Linked DNA regions of Homo sapiens: region 2 is linked to region 1. Evidence: promoter capture Hi-C in human tissues and cell types (Jung and others, 2019). All regions are on one chromosome and are shown on one strand. The core of a region is centred on a gene start or on the middle of the fragment in contact, and the rest is flanking DNA. Distances in the headings are between cores, read along the strand shown. Region 1 holds the start of VASH2 (vasohibin 2). Region 2 overlaps FLVCR1 (FLVCR choline and heme transporter 1).

Evidence for each region. The method cuts DNA at HindIII sites, captures the fragments that hold promoters and counts their contacts. A contact is called where the count stands out against the background at its distance.
Region 2: a contact is called between a fragment that was not itself captured here and the fragment with the promoter of VASH2 in region 1, in 4 of the 25 tissues and cell types used here (H1 embryonic stem cells, liver, lymphoblastoid cells and 1 more).

What each region holds. Positions count from the first base shown.
Region 1 is chr1:212,949,077-212,952,275 of GRCh38, reverse strand. It overlaps VASH2 (vasohibin 2), which reads right to left and starts at 1,735. Exons shown (of 8, transcript NM_001301056.2): 1 at 1,536-1,735; 2 at 458-937. The coding sequence starts at 733. RefSeq lists enhancers at 1,030-1,079, 1,600-1,749. The HindIII fragment of the contact is 12,745 bases long and covers 1-3,199 here.
Region 2 is chr1:212,891,466-212,894,632 of GRCh38, reverse strand. The region is part of intron 8 of FLVCR1 (FLVCR choline and heme transporter 1); the gene reads right to left. Among named protein-coding and RNA genes, the nearest start is that of FLVCR1, 35 kb to the right of the region's middle. The HindIII fragment of the contact is 4,420 bases long and covers 1-3,167 here.

The sequences.
Region 1 (3,199 bases), core at 486-2,985:
AAATTCATTCACAGCTTAATAAATCATTTGCTGGGGGAAGAGGGGAGCAGAGGAGGAGCAAGACACTCCAAAGAGAACAAGCAGGGTGGGATCCCTGGGGTCTGTGCATTCTTTGGCATCGCTGGTACCTGGTGGCTCTAGCTTTTGCTGAAGGAGGATGTATGTGGGGGTGAGTAAATAATAGAGTTTGGCTGGAGCTTCAAAGACACCTTGGCACAATCCAATTACACAGTCCCAGGATAGCAAGCCCGCTACCTCTCCCTTCCCCATTTCTTAGGCTTCCAATCTAAATATCTCAATTAGAAAAGGGCTGGCAGGAAGGAATGGGGAGAGGAAGGGAGTTTGTAGCAGGACTAGGAAAATGGAGATTGCCTGTGTTTGCTATGTATAGGCTGAAACGGTCCCATCGCTGCCTACCTACCCCCAGCCCCCCAACTCCGCCCTGGAAGCCACTGACCTTTGCCAAGAAGGCGGCGTTCCTGATGGCGCCCACCATTTCTCCCCCCTTAGGGTGCACCTTGGCCACGTGCATCCACATGCGCTCCCAGGTGTGGCTGTCGATGGGGAAGCCGCTCTTGTTGACGTGGAACAGCACCCCGCCGTCTTTGTCCTCCTCCTCTGAGCCCCCGCTGGTGGCGAGGCTCACGGGCCGCGCGTGGCTGCTCCGGGACCGGGTGCCTTTGGCGCCTTTGGGGTGGGGGCAGCGGTGAGTGTCGGCCGCGGAGCCGGTCATGGTGGGGCCTGGGCGGGGAGCGAGGTACTGGGGGCGCGCGGCGGCGGCAGCGGCGGCGGCGGCGGGGGGCGTGTGCGCGCGGGCGCGGCGAGGGGATCAGCGCCCCGCGGGGGCGGCCTTCTCCATGCCTCTCGCTGCGGCAGGACTCACCAAGGGGGAGCGGCGGCGGGAGCTCCGCGGAGGCTCCCTGCTTACCGGCGGTGCCTGAAATCAGCGGAGACACAGCTGACACCACAGCTAAGTGGACGCACAGCGGAACCGAGTGAGGGGTCCCGGAGTGTCTCCACGACACTCCCCGCTCCCCCCTGCACGCTGACAGCCTCCCTGAGAATCGATGACGGGCTTCCAGCCCTGCGATTACCTAGAAAGGCAGCTCAAAATGTGCCACGAAGCTTCACACACACCTAAACCCGGGGGGTTGGGGATGGAGGGGCACAAGGAGCTTGGGGGATGCGGAGCGCAAGATGTGGGGAGAAGAAAGACAGCTTGTGTAGCATGAAGGAACAGGAGGTTCCCGCAAGGCTCCACACATTCCTGGGTCCTCAGATGTGGCCAAGAGAGGAGGGGAGCCACGAACGTGCTGGCATGTGAGCGCCCAGAGCTGGCGCGAGGGCGCTGCAGCAGCCTTGGCTTGCAAGGCGGCCCGCTTTCTTCCAGGAAGCCCTCCCGGACCCCGGCGGGGATCTAGTGGAAAGAGCTCCATCCGCCCCCTTTTCCCCGAGTTCCAGCGCCTATCACCGGGAGGGACTGGCTGCAGGCGGGCGGCGCGCAGGAAGGGCGCGCGGCAGCTCCAAGATCCTACCTCGGGACGGTTGGCTTCATGGCTGCAGAGCCTCTCCGGGCGGCGGGAGAGCAGGGGCTGCTGCTGCTGCTGCTGGGCCTGGGGCTGGGGCTGGGGCTGCTGGGGCTTGCTGGGGCCGTCGCCTCATTCCATGTCCCATTCTCGAATGTTATTCTGTGACATATAACCAAGTCACCCGGGCAGCCGCCGATGTTCCGAATGCGTCTATTGGCCACCGCAACAAAGAGGGGCGGGTCCCGGGCTCGGGACTCTACAACCCCGGGCTCCGCGACGCTCTGATTGGCTCCAGGGGTTCTCTGGCGGGAGGGGACAGGAGTAGGGGGAGCCTGGCGGCCACGCGAAATCCGATCGCTGTGGTGTCCTGAGAGCCCCGCGGGCTGGAGCGTTTGGCCATGGGACTTAAGATCGAGTTTCCCCAGGGGTCGTGGCACTTCGAGGGTTTGCAACTGTGGAAGCAGAGGAGAAACAAAACCACCCGAGAAGTGACCCCGCGGAAGCAGAGGGTTTGGCATCAGAAGAGCATTCCCTGAGGGACGCTGGACACACTTACCTGCCTCTACCCGGGATGATGAGTTGTTCATCCTCTACCTGGGATGATGAGGGGCTGTTCATACCTATGCGTGAAATTAAATCTTTTTTAAATCCCGCATTTAAAAATTCCTCAAAATTAACAAGTGGGTGCAGCTTTGGATCCTCTGGTATTAGTCATGGTTAATAAAGTCCCTTTAAGCCCAAGTTGAGAGGAGACAATAAAACTCAAGAGGTCAGGCAGGCCCTGACTGTTCTGCCACAGCTGTTGAGTGAGAGGAGGGATGGAGAGATGCTTCCAAACCATGGTGAAGTGGGTGGCTATCCCACACTCACTACTGAAACACCTTCTCTTTCTTTTTCTTTAAGAAAGAGGAGAGCAGGTTGAGGTGGGAAGAGCACCAGACTGCTGACCTGAAGGCTGGCTCCTGGTCCAGGTTTGTCACTTTGCTCAGCTGTGTGACCCTGGACAAGCCACTTCCCTGCTCTGGGCCTTAGCTTCTCTTTCTGAAAGGAGAGCAGACCTCCCGCTCTCCAGGGTCTGTTCTGGCTGTAAGGTTCTGTGATTCCCTGACTTCCTCTCTTGTGACACTGAGGATCCTGGCCATAGCATCCTTTCTCTTTAAACTGCAGGCCAGCAGGCCAGCTCTGAGCAAAGCAGTTATGAGACCTATGCTAAGTGAACCTTGAATTAAGAAGACAGTTGTCAAAGTGCCACTGATGGCGGGTCAGTTTCTGGATGCTTATCCTGACAAGTTGCCTGTCATGGAACTGGAACTTCTCTTCCACAGGAGGGCAGAGACCCCTGAGGGGTAGTTGAGAGCCAGGGCTTGGGTGAGGAGACCTGGATTCTGGACTTAGCCCTGCACTGCTCCCTGAGACAGAGCCCATGCCAAGAACTTTATAGATTCAATAATGAGAATAGGGCAGACGTGGTGCCTCACACCTTTAAACCCAGCACTTTGGGAGAAAGAGGAGGAAGGATTACTTGAGGCCAGGAATTAGAGACTGGACCAACATAGCGAGACCTTGTCTCTACTAAATAAATATTTTGAAATTAGCCAGATGTGGTGGCACACACCTGTAGTCCCAGCTACTCAAAAGGCTGAAGTGGACATGTAGAATGAAACTGGATC
Region 2 (3,167 bases), core at 1-2,500, 57 kb after region 1:
GTCAGCCAAAGGAAATTAGAGAAGGCTTTCCAGAGAAGACATACTTGATACTGGAAAAAACTGAGTAATAACTTGTCAAGCAGACAAGAGGAGAGGAAGGCATTCTAGGCAGAAGGGAATGCAGGTATATCTCAGAGACATTGTGGGTTCAGCTCCAGATCACCACAAAAGAGTGAATATTGCTGGGCGTGGTGGGTCATGCCTGTAATCCCAGCACTTTGGGAGGCCGAGGTGGGTGGATCACAAGGTCAGAAGATCGAGACCATCCCGGCCAACACGGTGAAACTCCATCTCTACTAAAAACACAAAAAATTAGCCAGGCGTGGCGGCACGCACCTGTAGTCCCAACTACTAGGGAGGCTGAGACAGAAGAATCACTTGAACCTGGGAGGTGGAGGTTGCAGTGAGCAGAGATCGCACCACTGCACATATTTTTTGGTTTTCCAGTGCATAAAAAGTTATGTTTATACTATACTGTAGTCTATTTAAAGTTTGCAATAGCATTATGTCTAAAAAAAAAAATCAATCTACATGCCTTAATTTAAAAACACTTTACTGGCCAGGCTCAGTGGCTCATGCCTGTAATCCTAGCACTTTGAGAGGCCGAGGCGGGTGGATCACTTGAGGTCAGGAGTTCGAGACCAGCCTAGCCAACATAGTGAAACCCCCATCTCTACTAAAATACAAAAATTAGCTGGTTGTGGTGGTGGGCATCTGTAATCCCAGCTACTCAGGAGGCTGAGGCAGGAGAATCACTTGAACCCAGGAGGCAGAGGTTGCAGTGAGCCCAGATGGCGCCATTCCACTCCAGCCTGGGCAACAAGAGCGAAACTCCATCTCAAAAAAACAAAACAAAACAAAAAACACTTTACTGCTAAAAAATGCTAATGATTATCCAAGCCTTCTGCAAGTTATCTTTTTGCTGGTGGAGGGTCTTGCCTTGATGTTGATGGCTGCTGACAGATCAGGGTGGTGGTTGCTAAAAGGTGGGAGCGGCTGTGGCAATTTCTTAAAGTAAGACAGTGACGAAGTTTGCCGTATTAATCAACTCTTCCTTTCATGAAAGATCTCTCTGTGTGCAATACTTGTTTGATAACATTTTACCCACAAAACTTCCTCAAAACAGGAGTTGATCCTCTCAAACCCTGCCACTGCTTCATCAGCTAAGTTTATATAATATTCTAAATCCTTTGTTGTCATTTCAACATTTACAGCATCTTTACTAGTAGATTCCAACTCAAGAAAACACTTTCTTTGCTTATCCATAAGAAGCAACCCAGCCAGGCGCAGTGGCTGACACCTGTAATCCCAGCACTTTGGGAGGCCGAGGCAGGCAGATCACAAGGTCAGGAAATCAAAACCATCCTGGCTAACATGGTGAAACCCCGTCTCTACAAAAAATACAAAAAATTAGCCGGGCGTGGTGGCGGGCACCTGTAGTCCCAGCTACTCAGGAGGCTGAGGCAGGAGAATGGCCTGAACCCGGGAGGCAGAGCTTGCTGTGAGCCGAGATCACGCCACTGCACTCCAGCCTGGGCAACACAGCAACATTCCGGCACCCCCCCCCAAAAAAAAAGAAGCAACCCTTCATTTCTTCAGGTTTTACCATAAGATGCAGCAATTCAGTTACCTCTTCATATTCCACTTCTAATTCCAGTTCTCTTGTTATTCCCACCACATCTGCAGCTATTTCCTCCACTGAAGTCTTGAACACCTCAAAATCATCCATGAGAATGGGAATTAACTTCCTCCAAACTCCTGTTAATGTTGATAGTTTGACCTCCTCCCATGAATCAAGAATGTTCTTAATGGCATCTAGGATGGTGCATCCTTTCCAGAAAGTTCTCAATTTACTTTGCTCAGATCCAAGAGAGGAATAATTATTTCTGGCAGCTACAGCCTTTTGAAGTGTATTTCTTAAAGAATAAGACTTGAAAGTTGAAATTACTCCTTGATCCACGGGCTGCAGAAGGGATGCTGTGTTTCCAGACATGAAAGCAACATTGATCTCCTCGTACATCTTCATCAGAGCTCTTGGGTAAACAGGTGAATTGGTCAATGAGCAGTAGTATTTTGAAAGGAATGTTTTTCTCAGTAGCAGGCTTCAACAATGGGTTTAAAATATTCAGCAAACCATGCTACTAACAGATGTACTATCAACTACGGGGTTCAGGTTCATTGTTCCATTGTTAGAGCTTAGGCAGAGAAAATTTGGCCTAATTCTTAAGGGCCCTAGGATTTTCAGAATGGTCAACAAGCATTAGTTTCAATGTGAAGTCACCAGCTGCATCAACCCCTCACAAGAGAATGAGCTTGTCCTTTGAAGCCAGACATTGATTCCTCCTCTCTAGCTATGGCAGTCCTAGATGGCATCTTCTTCCAGTATAAGCCTGTTTCATCTACATGGAAAATTTGTGGTTTATTGTAGCCACCTTCATCAATCATCTTAGCTAGATCTTCTGGATAACCTACTTCAGCATCTACATCAGCACTTGCTGCTTCACCTTGCACTTTTATGTTATGAAGACAACTTCTTTCCTTACCTCATGAACTGACCTCTGCTAGTTTCCAGCTTTTCTTCCGCAACTTTCTCACCTCTTTCAACGTTCACAGAATTGGACAGTTAGGGCCTTGCTCTAGATTAGGCTTTGGCTTACGGCGATGTTGTGGCTGGTATGATCTTCTAACAAGACCACTCAAACTTTCTCCATATCAATAGGCTGTTTTATCATTTGTGTTCACTGGAGTAGCATTCTTAATTTCCCTTAAGAATTTTTCCTTTGCATTAGCAACTTGGCTAATTGTTTGGTGCAAAAGGACTAGCTTTTGGCCTATCTGGGCTTTTGACATGACTTGTTCACTAAGCTTAATCATTTTTAGCTTCTGATTTAAGAGGAGAGATTTACTACTCTTCCTTTTGCTTAAACACCTGGAGGCCACTGTAGGGGTAATAATTTGGGGGTATTAATCAGGGCCCTGATTTCAATATTGTTGTGCCTCAGGGAATACCATTTGAGATGGTAAAAGCATCAATGTAAAACTAATTTTAAAGATCTATTTTCACTTCTTAATTTTCTAGACTTGATTTGTTTGAATTAGTATTCATGAATCTCTTGTAAAAGTAATTTGAAGGAGGATTACAAAACTGCTCCCTTCTTTGGTATAAC